5 separate regions of the Homo sapiens genome follow, and regions 1, 2, 4 and 5 are each linked to region 3. Evidence: promoter capture Hi-C in 16 types of primary human blood cells and fetal thymus (Javierre and others, 2016). All regions are on one chromosome and are shown on one strand. The core of a region is centred on a gene start or on the middle of the fragment in contact, and the rest is flanking DNA. Distances in the headings are between cores, read along the strand shown.

Evidence for each region. Contacts are between HindIII fragments. The CHiCAGO score rates a contact against its expected background, and 5 or more counts as called.
Region 1: a contact is called between a fragment that was not itself captured here and the fragment with the promoter of COX7C in region 3, in 3 of 17 cell types (M2 macrophages, M0 macrophages and endothelial precursors). The highest score is 10.0, in M2 macrophages.
Region 2: a fragment that was not itself captured here is called in contact with the fragment with the promoter of COX7C in region 3 in 1 of 17 cell types (M2 macrophages); the score reaches 6.6 in M2 macrophages.
Region 4: a contact is called between a fragment that was not itself captured here and the fragment with the promoter of COX7C in region 3, in 1 of 17 cell types (M0 macrophages). The highest score is 6.1, in M0 macrophages.
Region 5: a fragment that was not itself captured here is called in contact with the fragment with the promoter of COX7C in region 3 in 1 of 17 cell types (total CD4 T cells); the score reaches 8.4 in total CD4 T cells.

Annotation. Positions count from the first base shown.
Region 1 is chr5:83,909,979-83,913,216 of GRCh38, reverse strand. No RefSeq gene overlaps it. Among named protein-coding and RNA genes, the nearest start is that of HAPLN1, 190 kb to the right of the region's middle. The HindIII fragment of the contact is 653 bases long and covers 1,481-2,133 here.
Region 2 is chr5:83,699,745-83,702,788 of GRCh38, reverse strand. The region is part of intron 1 of HAPLN1 (hyaluronan and proteoglycan link protein 1); the gene reads left to right. Among named protein-coding and RNA genes, the nearest start is that of HAPLN1, 20 kb to the left of the region's middle. The HindIII fragment of the contact is 2,913 bases long and covers 85-2,997 here.
Region 3 is chr5:86,616,525-86,619,767 of GRCh38, reverse strand. It overlaps COX7C (cytochrome c oxidase subunit 7C), which reads right to left and starts at 1,827. Exons shown (of 3, transcript NM_001867.3): 1 at 1,638-1,827; 2 at 272-415. The coding sequence starts at 1,712. The coding sequence ends at 299. RefSeq lists enhancers at 737-1,402, 1,700-1,789, 1,722-2,016, 1,403-2,068, 2,080-2,159. The HindIII fragment of the contact is 5,230 bases long and covers 28-3,243 here.
Region 4 is chr5:83,841,222-83,844,571 of GRCh38, reverse strand. No RefSeq gene overlaps it. Among named protein-coding and RNA genes, the nearest start is that of HAPLN1, 120 kb to the right of the region's middle. The HindIII fragment of the contact is 1,757 bases long and covers 1,033-2,789 here.
Region 5 is chr5:88,670,612-88,674,023 of GRCh38, reverse strand. MIR9-2HG (MIR9-2 host gene) reads left to right here. Exons shown (of 4, transcript NR_152235.1): 2 at 2,939-2,988. Among named protein-coding and RNA genes, the nearest start is that of MEF2C-AS2, 3.9 kb to the left of the region's middle. RefSeq lists enhancers at 1,133-1,746, 1,747-2,359. The HindIII fragment of the contact is 7,016 bases long and covers 1-3,412 here.

The sequences.
Region 1 (3,238 bases), core at 558-3,057, 2.7 Mb after region 3:
CATCTCATCCAGAGCTTCCCCAGCTTCTCTAAAGTAAGAATCAGCCAAAGCATTTGCTAACAACAACAATAACAACAACAACAACAAAATTATTGGACCTCCAATCCAGAAATGCTGAATCAGTTTCCAGGGAAGAAGCTTGGAAACCCCAGAAAATTCTCATCACTAGGAAAGGTTGGAAAACACTGACCAGCTCAACCTCCTGGCAACAAAGGAATCTCCCTTACACCATGCACAACATGTAACCAGCCATGAGTTCTACGTTGGCCAAAAACCTGCCAGTGAAGATGGTCAGCAGCATATAACTGTGGACATACCTGGGTGAAATCCTTCCTTCACTGTTTGCCAGCCATGTGACTTTGAAAAATTCACTGAGCCTGTCTGAGTTTGGTTCCCCTTATCTGCAAAATGGAGGTAATAATTGCAACTTCATGGCATTGTTTTGCTGAGCAAACAAGATGCCATATGTAATGCACCTAGCACAGGGCTGGCACCAAAGCACCCAGCATATACCAGCTAATGCAATTTAGACAATGATTCTCAACCTTGCTGGCATGTACACATCACCTAAGAGGTTTTTAAAATCCCAAGGTCCTGGCTACATGCTAGCCCAAGTAAGTTAGAATCTCTGAGGATGAGATCCAGGCATCAATATTTTAAACTTCCCCAGGTTATTCCATGTGCAGCTAATATTAAGGAAAATTGAATAAGCAGCAAACAAATTTGAAAGGCTGCCCAACTCAGCAGCTGAAAAGCCATAATGATTACCTTGTATTTCCTTTGAAAGAGGCACAACTAAAACAATCATCATTGGTATCATCAAAGAGTATATTTTAAGCACCCACTGAGTGCAAGATAATAAAGTCCCTTTTCTGGAAGATCTTTGAAACACCAGGAAGCCTACTACACGGATATCCTCTTTGCTTAAGCTTCATGGGTATACCTTTTTCTTGTTTATAGTTTCAAGTTGTTAGATGACTTCTTGTCACATTTGTGTTGTCGATGGTGAGTTGCCAGCAGAGCGTCATCTCAGGAGAAATCACTGAATACAGCTTTGCTTGATGCAGGTAGCTAAAGGAAAGAGGGAAACATTCTGAATAATTAGAAGGAAAAAGGCAAGAACGGGATTCCCTAAGGAAAGAGCTCCTGTCAGAGCCAATGGAAGCAGATGCTCCAACAAAACGAGGCTCAAGAGGACAAAGCAGGAACCTTTTCCTGTGTGACAAGGAAAGGGTCAAGAGGACCAATTTCATTTAGAATAATTAACACCCAATAATTGATCAAAGGTATTATTACAATTTCACCTGTCCCTAAATCCTGAGAAGCTTAAGACATGGCCTGTGATTAATCAGCATGACAATCATAATTATGGATAAATGGAAATTAAGACGTTTTATTTCTGTCAGTTTTATTGAAATCTTGTCCCTGCTTTGCCTATGTGATGCCAACTCAATCCTCTGTAAACAGGGAACTGAAAGCTTGTTTCATTTTTCAAATCCCTTTACACCATCAGAGTCTGAATCAAAAGGCAACCTGCCATTATGTTTAAGTTACAGTGATAATAATTACAGTAGTCTAGAATTCCCCACCAACTATTTTATCTTAAGAAACACAGGTTTATACTCTTGCTGTCTGCCTAGCTGTCAATCCATATACAGGAGACACTAAAAGGATAAATTAACTTGGTGACTCCTTCAAAATGGTATTGATTCAAAGATATATCGGTTGACAACCTACCCTCAGAGAAGAAAGGACCAGCTGCCATTCACAGAGTAAATAAATACTTTCTAGGTTGGGCACTGATGTTTCCTGAGACCTCTAAGAACCCAGCTTCTGACAATGCTGTTACCACATTTAAGTGTCCTATAATTATGAAATTATTATTTTAGTTTTGTTTTGTTTCATGAATTTTACTTGTTTTCACATATAAGCAAATGTTTTTCTCCATTTCTGGAAGAAAATAACATTTTACAGCATGAGAGAAACCCTCATATAAAGTACAATAGCTTTTGATTTGGGCCACTGTTTGTAAGGACAAATTAAAGTATAACAACAGGAATTTTGGAATAGAGGAATAATTTGAATCAATAACAAAGAAACAGGAGATGGAGTGAGGGAAGAAGGGGGAAAGCTTTAGTGCCCTGATTTGCTCACATTTCATAAGAAAGAATTACTTAAAACTGATAAATCAAGTAACTGCAACACATTTTTTAAACTTTTATTTTAGTTTCCAGGGTACATGTGCAGGTTTGCTATATAGGTAAACTGAGGGTCATGGGTGATTGGCATACATATGATCTTAAAGTCACAATTGCAGGCTTTGATTTCTGAAATGTAAAAAAAAGTTTCAATTCACTTTAAGTTAATTTCTTCTTGGATGTTTCTCTTCTTGGAGATATATATATATATATATATATACACACACACACACATACACATACACTATAATGTAATTTACTGATATTAATGTAGGTTATATATTATATAAAAAAGATTATATATGTTATATATAAACATATATTATTATGTATATGTAATTATATATATTCATATTTATAGATGCATACATATATACACACATATTCCTATATACACACATCATCTATGCAATCACATATGTGAAAAAAAAGTCAGCTATTTATTTTGAAGGCCCATTCTAAAGCTTAATCTGCTCTCCTGGTGCATGGAAACTCCATAAATATTATTCTTCCACTTTTCTAAATTTATTTGTTTATCACGTTTTGCTTGTTGTTATTAACCCTGTTTCCAAAATAAAACCAGTTATATATAGCCAACTAAAATTTTAGAATGTCAATTCTATTTCTATATTCAGTGATTGTTTTTGTATCAAATAATTAACATATATACTGAGAAAACATAAGATTGATGTTAAAAACAAAACAGAAACAAGTGCCTTACTAACAATGCAGCAGCATTTCTTCTACTCCTGTTGTCTTGTGATTTGTACTTAATTATTTCAACAAACTAGAATATTGTTATCCTTAAGATGACAATACATAAAGGAAAATATCTCTAGGAAACATGAAAAGGTCAAAATAAAGAGATAATTAACTACAAAATAAAATGGCATTTATCCTATAGTTATAGCAGAATAAATATATGTACTTACTAGAAATATCAAGAATGACCTTTTTATCAGTAGAAAGTTTTAAAAGTAGTTGCTGTATTTCATGGATAAAACAACCATCTCTTGAAATAAATGGTCTGAGATAAATAA
Region 2 (3,044 bases), core at 292-2,791, 2.9 Mb after region 3:
TCCAGCCTGGGCAACAGGGCGAGACTGTCTCAAAAAAAAAAGGAAAACTGTTGGGGGAAAAAAAAAGAGGGCATATTGAAAGCTTCCAGAAACAAAAGACACTAGACAGACTAACGAGTAAGAAAATCAGCTAGTTGGAAAATTTCCTTTTCTTTCCACTTTAAGAAATGCCAAAAATCAGTGGGTTGGCTTGACTATGTTCTGAGTAACCCTTATCTTCATGGCCTTATTTCTCTGAGAGACCAAACCCTTCAAGCCTAGAGGGATTATCAGTGTGCCTAGCTCCCTGAAGATGCTGTGCTGAGATAAATTTTAGTGGGGACTCAGTTCCTGCGTCTTTTGTAGATGCTCTACAGTCTTATTGCTAACAAGACAAAATTCTGGAAGCAGTTTGAGATGTTCATATCCATCTTTATCACTATCTAATGTGATTTTAAGTTATAAAAAGAAAAATGATGACTGAAAAGTTTATAATTTATACCGGATATTTGACAATGTTATATCTATTTTTTTAAGCCATGAAAGGCAGGCCAAAGTAAAAGCCAAATTTATCACAAAGATTTCAATCATTAAAATCTCTCAGGATATCTAACTTCTCTTCCCAAACATTTATGCAGTTCTACTCCTCTAATTCTGAGCTTACACACTTCTCTCAAGCAGGAATCCCTTATCATTTTATCCCTCCCACCTGAAACATGGCTCATGCTTGCATCATTCATGTAACACTTCCTCCCGGTAACCTTGCATTGTGCCACTAGCTGGAATTAGTCACTTCTTTCTCATTTCTCTCTTAATATTTTATTCGTACCTCGATTACTTCATATAGATTTTGTGTGTGTGTGTGTGTGTGTGTGTGTGTGTTTTTGTCGAAGTCTCGCTCTGTCGCCCAAGGTGGAGAGCAGTGGAGCGATCTCGGCTCACCGCAACCTCCGTCTCCCGGGTTCAAGCAATTCTCCTGCCTCAGCCTCCCAAGCAGCTGGGACCACTGCATCTGGCTAATTTTTTGTACTTTTAGTAGAGACGGGGTTTCACCGTGTTGGCCAGGCTGGTCCTGATCTCCTGACCTCAGGTGATCCACCCGCCTCGGCCTCCCAAAGTGCTGGGATTACTGGCGTGAGTCACCGTGCCCCGCCTCATATACTTTTTCATGTGTTGAATATAATCAACTGTTAAAATGTCTTTTATTTATTTATAGTGTCTTTGTTAATGAGTTGTTTTATCCATCTTTACATCCTTCAAAATTCTGAGCTGAAAGGTCAGATTTGAAACTGTAGAGATCAAAGGACCAAATGTGTTCCAAACACCCACCTACTCTCAAATCCCCTGTGTAATACAATAGGCAGATGTTTGTTGATCTGCCTAAACACCTGCGGTAGCAGAAAGCACTGTGTACTTCACAGGGCAATTCATTTCACTTTTAGATGACTTATTAGGAAATTCTTCCTGACAGTGTGCAAAATTTGATTTCTTGACTTCCACCCACTTGGTCCAGTTTTGCCTTGTGAAGCTACACGAAATAAGTTTAATAGCTTTTCCATATTTGGGACGTCTATTTCTAAATGCAAAGCATTATGTTTTTCCTGCAAAATTTTGTTATTTTTGTCACATCGTTCCAAATTTTGCAGATGGTTCTATTCTAGCTCTCAAGTCACATTGCAATTAGTCTAGTATTAGCTTTACAATCCATATACAGGCTTTGAGCCTTGGAACTATAAGACTAAAAGGAAAACTCTCATTTATATTAACATCACTTGAAAGTAAACCTCTTGACTGATAGTGTAACAGAATTACAGAAATTAATAAGATAATGTCCTTGTCACTGGGAAGGTCTCCTTTTATTAAACTAATAGCTAGTGCACCAGAGATAAGGAAAATAAATGTTAATGCAGAGTTGAAAAACTTTATTTTGAAAATAGAAGGCATTAATCATCTGCACTCTTTTACTGTGTCCTTATTTCATTACATATGGTTACTCTTTCAAATTAATTTTCAGAGAGCAGAATGAGAGGAGCCTTGTGCCATCGTTGACTATCTGCACCCTTAAACTGATAGATCATAGCAAAAATTGAAACCTAGCTTAGTCTAATAGTCATTATGAATGGTAGTGCATTAGCTGCCTAAAAGTAAAAAAAAAAAAAAAAAGTTTGAAAGGAGAGTTTGAGACATAAACATTTAAAGGAAAATACCAATTTACTGTAATTGGTATAAAACAAAATGTGACCTTAATTTATATTACTATGTATTCTTGGCAATTTTTTCTCCTCATTTGCAAAATTTTCTCCTTTCTCTATTCCTCCTTGCCTGCACCAGATGACAGTGTCCATGGTGAGGATGAGAGGTGAACAGTATGTGACTTCTGCATAATAATATTCTAAATTTTGAATCATGATGGATATTGCTATAAGCCAGTAACTGTCACCTCAAACTGATGGGTGGGAAAAGGGTCCTTCAGGCATGACACATTGGCAATAATTGGAAATCCATTCTTTTCTCTTTTAAAAAGAAAAGTCTTTATTTGTATGCAGTATCAGAGTAGATACATGTAATTTTTGTTGTGGTGGTGGTGGTGGTTGTCTTTTTTTTTTTTTTTTTTTTGAGATGGAGTCTCACTCTGTCACCCAGGCTACAGTGCAGTGGCGCAATCTCAGCTCACTGTAACCTCCGCCTCCTGGGTTAAAGTGATTCTCCTGCCTCAGCCTCCCAAGTAACTGGGACTACAGGCATGAGCCACCATGCCCAGCTAATTTTTGTATTTTTAGTAGAGACGGGTTTTCACCATGTTGGCCAGGATGGTCTCCATCTCTTGACCTCATGATCCAACCACCTTGGCCTCCCACAGTGCTGAGATTACAGGTGTGAAGGTGTAGTTTTTAAATAAAACAATTGTTTCAGTTTACCAGCAGGAAGCATTTTGGTACTCTGCTTTTAATGTTAAAATAGAAGTGTTGTTTGCTTCATGCTCCTATTGTTATCAATAGTATAATTGGTTGTTAAGCTTATTATCAGAAACTATGGAACATGATTGATTTAATATTCAGTATATC
Region 3 (3,243 bases), core at 578-3,077:
GGGTTACTATCATCCGCCTCACAAGCTTGCTAGAGAACATGAGATATCGATGTAAAGTGTACCTGATAAGCAGTAGTATTCAATAAACACTGGCCATTATTGAAATATTTTTATATAGGTTTACAACTAGTCTCCACCAATGCCACATCTACACATAACCTCAGGAATCAGCCCTACACAACAATGTATTTGTGTGTGTGTTCTGGGTGATGGGGAAGAGGCTACTTAATAAAAAGGCCTGCTTTAACATGATTAGAAATCCACTAACTACCTGTTAAATGGAGGAACTGAAACATCCTTATGTTTTAAGCAGTTGGTGTCTTACTACAAGGAAGGGTGTAGCAAATGCAGATCCAAAGTACAAACACATCTTAGCTAGTAACGACCACTTGTTTTCCACTGAAAATGGCAAATTCTGTTGGAAAAAAAGAGAAAAAGTAATCGAAATTGAATCTCAAATCATCTGCTTAATAATCAAAATACAAGTATACAGGAAATGCTAGTTATATTTTACATCATCAGGTTAACATATGCCATAAATCATAACATCGTTTTAAACATTTATCTTTCAAATCCTATGACCTTCATCACAAAACACTACATGGCAAGAAATAATCTGGCTTTACTAAGCACTAGGCAATGAATGGTCTTGAGGACTCAAACGTCAAATAGTGAGAAGTTTCTTACTTTAGAAAATCGAAAAAACTACTGTCCTAAGTAGTCACCTTAGAAGATACATGGCAATGTTAAGTGCAATACAGCTCTTTTTTTTTCTTTTTTTTTTTTTTTGAGACGGAGTCCCGCTCTGTCCAGGCTGGAGTGCAGTGGCCCGATCTCGGCTCACTGCAACCTCCACCTCCCGGGTTCAAGCGATTCTCCTGCCTCAGCCTCCCGAGTAGCTGGGATTAGAGGCACACACCACCACGTCCGGCTAATTTTTTTGTACTTTTTAGTAGAGACAGGGTTTCGCCATGTTGGCCAGGCTGGTCTGGAACTCCTGACCTCAGGTGATCCGAACGCCTTAGCCTCCCGATTACAGGCGTGCGCCACCGCACCTGGCCCACAGTTTTTTTTGTTTGTTTGTTTTTCATTACCAAGCACCTTCTCTGGCCTTTATGACTAGGCCTCGTGTGACCCTCCGAGATTGTTACTGCTATGTGGTTTAAGTTATTTACACCTGAGGCCAAACCCAGCCTTAACTGAGGTGAAGGGTTAGTACTTCTAACTTAGGCAGCTAGTTTAAAAAGCCTGTTCCATAACCAGAGGCCCTGATTTCCTCATGATTTTCCAATGACCTTCATTTCGGGTCCGATGACCTCCAGCTCGGATTTAACCAACACACCTACAGCCGTGGCCTCCCGGAGCCATCTCAGGGCTTTCTGCGGGGCGGGGGAGGGGGCGTCAGGTGGCTGATGGAGGCAGGGCTTCCGGATCTACCTGCCCATTCCTTTAGCGGCTACGCGCTAGGATGCCCAGCTTCCTCACTGGTCCTTGGGCTAAGTGGAATGCTAGTCTGCGTCTCAGCCTGGTTTCTGGCTATCATCTCCCACGCCACAGCCCGGAGGCGGCCTTGCAGGTGCGCGAGTCACAGCCAAGCGCCCCCTCCCCCAACGAAGCCGTGCCCCTTACACACTAACCTTCCCAGGGCCCTCCTCATAGTGGCTCCTACGGACCACAGAGGTTGTGAACCTCCGGATGCTCTGGCCCAACATACCGCTGCTGGAAGCTCTGCGAAAGGCGCAGAGAATGAGGACAGATGAAATGGCGGCACCTCACCAAGACCTTTTTTTTCACGACCTTGTTCCCCGGTGCGCAAGGACTGAAAAGAAAGATGGGAAATGGGGCGGAGCCTTGAGGAAACGCGACAAAGCGGAAATCGCCCTGGATTGTGGGAATTGTAGTTCAGACCATTGCGGAGCCTTATCAGCCCCCGAAGGATTGTGGGAAATGTAGTTTCGCGCCAGGCTTAGGTCTAGGATTCCTGGGGCCTGTTACCGGAAACGATTTTATTGAATCAAGTGAAGCAGTTTCACCCCGTATACTCTAGTCTGTTGAAAAGGACAATAAACCCATCCCTTTTCTCTTCTTTCTTTCTTTTTTAAAAATAAAGTATATGCTAGGTGTCAATGATTTCGAGGACTTTTGCCAATGCTGAGAGATATGTGCTAATGATCCTAGCTGAAGAAACAAAGCATAAACACAAGTAATCAAACAACGTGCAGCACAAAGGACTTCAGAGAGAAAACTGAAATGCTAAGGGAATGATCACTAAAGATAATGGGAATCGAATAAAAAAGAAGGAAGAACAAAGGGCAGGGAAAACTCAAGTCTGGTATGAGTACAGCATGTGTGAGGAGTAGAAGGGAAAAGTGGCCTCTGACACCTGGAGCTAGCCTGGACTAGGAACTGGTGTCCGCCTGATGAACGTACACAATTTCAGCAAGCATTAGCATCCAACAAGACCACTCTGACAGTGTTCATTAAGAAAAGAATATGATCACTGTGTAATCACATCTGAACACAGATAAAACATTGTCCAAGCCACGAAAATGACCGGACATCACCCTATCTGGTTTAATTTGATGACTTCTGCTTCTTTACCAATTACAATCTTAGCCTTGATCTAGCCTTTCTTCCTCCTAAGATTTGGTAAGGTAGCCAATATTAGGAGAAAAAAATCCCAAATCCAATAAGCATTTTCTAATATTTTACAGAGAACCCTTACTGCAATGAATAATAAACCCCGTTTGTCAATTACATGTGTGCTTCTGGTGGTCTTTGACCAGAAGGTATTGAGAAGAAACCAGTGATAAATGAACCTGGGAAAGTGGTGTTAGGTTAGATTGTGAAAGGCCCTGGTAACCTAAATGTTATGTTATTCATCTGTGGGGGAGTGTATATTGCCTCACGTGTCTCATTTATATAGCATTAGGAAACAATTCCAATAAGACCTAAGGTTTGCTTTGAAAAGGGCATAACATATATGCTCTTTTCGTCTTTTTTTTTTTTTTTTTTTTCAGTTTTTGGAAGAGAACAACCATGCCCCTCCCCCCCAAAAAAACACTTAAAAAAAACACTTAAATTCATATTTTGTTTCAACAAGTAGCTTCTTTTTGAGTAGGGGTTCATGAAATGCATCATAACTGGTGTCCTCTACCACCTAATTTATAGAAGTTATGTGACATTCCATTTTTTTTTAACATTCCGTTCACTGCCTTTACATATTAAAGAATTCTGATTTAA
Region 4 (3,350 bases), core at 662-3,161, 2.8 Mb after region 3:
GTTTGGAAAGCCCACGAGACCCATCAGAGTAATTTGGCGACTGAGGCTTTGGGTTCACTCTAGGACAGAGGCAAGAACTACTTTGGCTAAACAGTCTTGGGCCAACTAATGCCGTCTTCAAGTCAAAGCCAAAACCTACCTGGTTTCTCAGGAGTCTTTCTGAGAGTTCCCAATAACCCCTGTACTGCCATGAGTGAGGCCGGTAATGTGCTGAGTGTGGAACCCTGAGGCAATGAGAGTGAGATCGGGGAGCAGTTTGAGAGGATATCACACCCCAGTAAGGAAGGTCAGGGCTAGATTTGCCATGTGCCCCAACATTTTCAGGATGGATTTAGCTTTCAGAATACTTATGACAGCATCAGACTTCAGATTACCCCATCCCCACCCCACATCTACATGTGGGTCTGACCTAGCTGATGAGCCTTTTGCCTAAATCTCTCCTTCTCATTCATAATCCCTGTTAAGACCAAAATGATCCCTATCTTAGTTACTTCATAGAGTTTCTGGCAGTACCTTTTTGTTGGGCTGGTTCCAGCTTTATGTATCCTTTATACAGGATAGCTTTGTCCTTTTTTTGCTCTGTTCAGACGTCCTCCAAACGACGGGTGTTTCAACAGTAACCTGGATACATTTTAAATTTAGGAGGCCAAAGTGGGTGGATCACCTGAGGTCAGGAGTTTGAGACCAGCCTGGCCAACATGGTGAAACGCTGTTTCTACTAAAAATACAGAAATTAGACGGGCATGGTGGTGCATGCCTATAATCCCAGCTCCTCAAAAGGCTGAGGCAGGAGAATGGCTTGAACCCGGGAGGCGGAGGTTGCAGTGAGCCAAGATCACGCCACTGCATCCAGCCTGGGCAACAGAGCAAGACTCCATCTCAAAAAAATAAAAAATAAATAAATAAATAAATAAAATTTTTGTGTCAGGCAGAGTTAGTGATTTAGGCAGTGGTTCTGCCTGAGGCTTAATCTGTCCCAACACCTGCTACTCTAAGCTGCTCTCTACTAGATCCATTACCTAACTCAAAGCTTCCAGGGAACCTGATTGCCTGAGAAGCCCTATTTACAATACGTTATTGAAATGTACCTTGACTAAGAGTGCCTGGGGGCTTGGTCCTATATAGGCCTCATATGCACCATGACATCTCAGACACACTGAAATCAGATGACTTCTAAATGAAAAGAAAAAACAGGAATAATGTCATAGGTCCACCTTGACAAATGCTGCTATAAGATAAGCATTCACCTTCTCATTCAATGGGTATAATTCTAAGGGTGACTAAAATTACAAGCACACTTTGGAGTTATTGCAGGTCCATTCCAGACCCCTGCAATAAAACAAATATCACAATAAAGTGAGTCACACCATTTTTTTGGTGTCCCAGTGCATATAAAAGTCGTGTTTAAAATATACTGCAGTCTATTAAGTGTTTAATGGTATTATATCTAAAAAAAATGCGTATCTTAATTAAAAATACTTTATTGCTAAAAAATGCTATCATCTGTACCTTCAGTGAGTGATATTTTTTTTGCTGGTGGAGGGTCTTGCCTCATTGTTGATGGCAGCTGACTTATCAGGGTGATGACTGGTGAAGATTGGGGTGGCTGTAACAATTTCTTTCTTATTTGAAGAGACATAGTCTCTCTCTGTGGCCCAGGCTGGAGTGTAGTGGCATGATTATAGCTCACTGCAGTGTCAAACTCCTGGGCTCAAGGAATCCTCCTGCCTCAGCATCCCAAGTAGCTACAGTACAAACACCACCATGCCTAGCTAATTGTTCTTATTTTTTAATTTTTTTGTAGCACCTGGGTCTCACTATTTTGTCCAGACCAATCTTGAACTCCTGGCCTCAAGTGATCCTCCCCTGCCTTCGCTTCCCAAAGAGCTGGGATTACAGGCATGAGCCAACATGCTCAGCCTCAATTTCTTAAAATAAGGTCACAGTGAAGTTTGCCACATTGATTAACTCTTCCTTTCTTGAACTTTTTCTCTGTAGCATGTGATGCCATTTGATAGTATTTTACCCACAGTAAAATTTCTTTCAGTATTAAAGTCGATCCTTTTAAACCCTCTCACTGCTTTGTCAACTAAGTTTGTGGAATATTCTAAATCCTTTATCGCCATTTCAACAATGCTCACAGCAGCTTCACTAGGAGAAGTTTCCATCACAAGAAACCACTCTCTTTGCTATTTGCTAAGAAGCAACTCCTCATCCATTCAAGTTTTATCAGGAGATCGCAACAATCCAGTCACATTTTTAAGCTCCACTTCTAATTCTAGTTTTCTTGTTATTTCCACCACATCTGCAGTGACTTCCTCTACTAAAGTTTTGAATCCCTCAAAGTCATCCACGAGGGTTGGAATCAGTTTCTTCCAAAATTCTGTTAATGTTGATATTTTGACCTCTTCCCATGAATCACAAATGTCCTTAGTAGCATCTACAATGGTGAATCCTTTCCAGAAGATTTTCAATTAACTTTGCCCAGATCCACAGAGGAATCACTACCTATGGCAGCTATAGCTTTACAAAATGTATTTCTTAAATAATAAGACTTAAAAGTTGAAATGGCTTCTTGATCCATGGGCTATAGAATGGATGTTCTGTTAGCAGGTATAAAAACATTAATGTCCTTGTACATCTCCATTGGAGCTCTTGGGTGACCAGATGCGCTGTCAATGAGCAGTAATATTTTGAAATGATTTTTTTTTTCTCAGCAGTAGCTCTCAACAGTAGGTTTAATATAATCAGTAACCCAAGCTGTAAACAGATGTGCTCTCATCCAAGCTTTGTTGTTCCACTTATAGAGCAAAGACAGAATAAATTTAGCATAATTCTCAAGGGACATAGGGTTTTTGGAAAGGTAAATGAGCATTGGCTTCCACTTGTAAGTCACCAGCTGCATGAGCACCTAAAAAAAAGATTCATCTTGTCCTTTGACGCTTTAAAGCCAAGTGTTGACTTCACCTCTGTAGACATGAAAGTTGGCGGGCGCCTGTAGTCCCAGCTACTCGGGGGGCTGAGACAGGAGAATGGCGTGAACCCAGGAGGCGGAGCTTGCAGTGAGCTGATATTGCGCCACTGCACTTCAGCCTGGGCGACAGAGCAAGACTCTGTCTCAAAAAAAAAAAAGAAAGAAAGAAAGTTCTAGATAGCATTTTCTTCCAATAGAAGTCAGTTTTATCTCCATTGAAAATCTGTTGTTTAGTGTAGCTGCCTTATCAATGATATTAGCTGTATCTTCTGGATCACTCGCTGCGTCTTCTCCATCAGCACTTGCTGCTTCACCTTGCACTGGTATGTTATGGAATAGCTTCTTTCTTTAAACCTCATGACCAACCTCTTCTAGC
Region 5 (3,412 bases), core at 177-2,676, 2.1 Mb before region 3:
TCTTTAGAATGCATTGCTTGTCTTTAGCTAAACACATTTAACAACCACGACACAAACGGGGAGGAGTGAAGAAGGGGGACTTGAACCAAAAGACCTTTAAAAAAAAAAAAGTCTGCGAGTCAAAAGGTCATTCTCCAAGTTTGTAAATAAAATTGCAAAGGGAGTCCTTAAGAAAGGAGAGGAAAGAAGGGGAAGAAGGTTAGGAAGACTCACAAGTTACATAAAACAGTGCATTGGAAAAACGACAGGGAGATTCTGTAATAAAAAAAAAAGAAGAATCTTAAGAAACCAAGAGAGAGAAAAAAAAACTGGAGGAAAAAAGAAAAAGAGAAGAAAAGGATTTTAAAAAAAAGAAAAAAGCAAAAGAAGTTTCCAAAGAAATGTGTGCTTTGCATCCTACAATAGGAAAATGTAGCCATTGCCTTCCTTCAGACGAGACATTTCTAATTTGTTCCGTCTGTCAGGAGGGGACTATGAGAGGTTTGGGTGCAAATTCATTATCTCTGGCAACGCAGAACGTAGTGTGGGGACTGAAAAAGACCGTGGCAATGGATGAACAATAGGGCTTCAGTTCATCAGTAACAAAAGCAGTGGGGAAATTGGTTGAGTTTCAGAGCACGTCCTCCTCGGCAGAGGGGGCTGGACTAGACCTTGGACAGCCCCCCCAAAAACTTGCCAAGCCTCGCACACACCACTTCACTCTCCACTCCGAGGCTCAGGGAGCAAGTGCCTGGCATGGGGGGTAAAAGTTGGCTTTTTTTTTACTCCTTGGTCTTTTGCGCCCTTCTCCCTCTCCCCAGAAGGGAAGACCCATTTAAACTATTTTAGACGCAATCAACCAAGAATCACCATGTGGAATTGAGCGGCAGTTTTAAATGTGTTGAGCAGGGGAGAGGAATGATGAGAAAAACATTTTTTTTTTTTTTTTTGGAGACGCCGAAAGAAGCCTGTTTGTGTGCTGCGGCCGTGCTGTGACTTTGGATCTTGTCTTTCAGCCGGCGCCTCGGTTCCTGCCCAGCTGGATTTGGGGGGCAGCATTGCCTGGCGCAGGGAGATCAAGTGAGTATCGTGGCGGCCCTCAGGCTGCAGCTCGCCCGCGGCGCGAGGCCAGCAGTGCCCGCCGCGGCCCCGCGCCCGCACTCCTCACCTCGCCCGCTAGCCGGTGCCCGCAGAGTCCCGCTGCGGGCCGCTCCGAGGGCCAGTCCGGGGCTTTGCTTCAGCTAATTGATTGTGTGCCTCGGATGTTAAACCTGTTGATCTCGTGAGTTTTCTTAGCCAGTACTGTTAATTATCCAGCGGCTTGACCCCCAATCGCAGAGAGATGCCAGGAAATCTTCGCGTTGGAAAAGGGAATTTTTGTATGTAATTTTGTGGTGGTGGTGGTGGTGGTGTGTTTGGGGGGGCTTTTCCCTTTTAAACCTAGAGCAAAATGCACTTGTATTTTGCACTTCTGTATTCGAATTCGCATTTTGAAGAATTCGCCTCCCTTTAACCGCCCCAAAGTTGCAATTACCTGGCAAGGAAGCGAGGGTCTGATTAGATTTTGGTGGAAAACTTAGTACAGTAGCTAAGTAGATCTGGTGGCTTTCCACTTCCCTTTTCTCTTTGCCTTTTGAATTTTGGGAGGTGAGAGGCCGCTTTACAGGGTTATCCCAAGTTCAGATTCATCAAGATGCAACCATCATGGTTAGTTATTGGTACTTGGAGCGGTTCAGCTTAAGACGCTTCTGGTATCCAAACGGAGCTAGGTCTTTGCGGTTTGCTTAGAGTCTAGACCCGGCTGAGGAAGGCAAGAACTCCTTTCTGTGGCCTGGAATTATCTGCAGGAACCCAGGGTGATGGGAACTCGGGCAATGTATTTGCATTAGTGTCTGCGGCGTTTTATCTTGCAAATGTACCCGCGGTGCTTGAATGGGGGACTGTCTTGAGGGGTCAGGAGAGCAGTGGAATTGATCAGAAGTTAGACCGGAGGCTCTGTCAAGTCACGGCCACGGCCGGGGGCCCCTTTGGAGCTGTGGCTGCCTTGGGCCCAGCACCGCAGAGTCGGGTTCCGTTTCCTCCCTTTCTTGGTGTCCACCTCTGTCTACCACCCTCCTTTCTCCACCTTGGCACCGGTAATTAGGGCGCTGTCTCAGGAAGCGAGCTCCCACAGTCAGCATAATTAAACCAGGGCAATACTTTCATTTTGCAAAACCAATAGCCCCACCCCTCCAGTCCAAAATAACAATAAGCATTAAAAAATCATAAAAGAAAAACAACCTATTTTGGGGAGTATTGAATTCCTGAATGTTGGATCGAGAGGGAATGGGGGAAGGGAAATTTTCAAAAATCCACCACTTTACAGCAATCAGGTTTTACATTATTCATTGATTTACTGGAGGAAAGAGCCAATCAGGAGCCATAGATATGAATGCACATCTCACGGTGCTGTGGCCTTACAGTAAACTATTTGCATCTTTCTAATGGAGTAGATATTTATCCAGGGATTGCCATTGTTCGAAAGGCCTGGAAATTCAGTTCCTTAAACATTTAGAAAATAAGACTTTGTTCCAGACTTAAAATCCTTACATGGAAGGACTCTCCTCTTTTGTATGGCAGGTTACAAGGTTCAAGTCCCTAATGTTTTTTTAAGAGTCCCTCTTCCTTCCAAGCTAAAAATAAAAGAAAAGAAGAAAGAAAAATTAATTTCTCAAACCCCTCCAGATTCTGCATATTTTGCATTCACATTATCATGCATGTCTCCATTTGAATGCAAATTAGCATATTTAACCCCGTGGGTGCTGAGACCTAGGATACATTGTACTGGGGTTTTATGGAATCTCTGGCATTTTAAGGAATCATGTTAATAGCAATATTTTAAATGAAGCAATATCTATATGACTTCATATGTATACATATATATAAACTGTGATCATTTGTTTTCTTGACTATTTTTCAGATGAGACTGCAAAGAAGCATAAAATGAATAGACAATCCAACCAACCAAAGGTAATTTTAAAATTTACATTTGATAAAATCCAAGTGATGTACAAAATAGAGTATTATTTACTAGGCGGTAGGCATGCAGTGGGTTGCATATCTCCTAATTCATGCTCTAAGTTTCTATATGTGCAGCCTTCTCCTCTACAGGGAGCCTTTGTATATTATATATCAAGCATAATACAAATATAACCTGTAACTGCCTATAAAAAAGAAATTCAAGATACAGAGTAAATAATAGAATACTTTTGTTAGAAAGTAAGCCAGTCAGGTACCTTGCCTGAACTATACAAATCACTGTAAATTAAATGGCTTTTATGTAGAAAATGGTAGTCTTGACTGTACTAGTGCACTGTGGTTTACATGCATTTGAATCATACAAACCAAATATTAAAAGGGGATTTCAGTGATAGGCCAGTTCTTCATGTGCTTT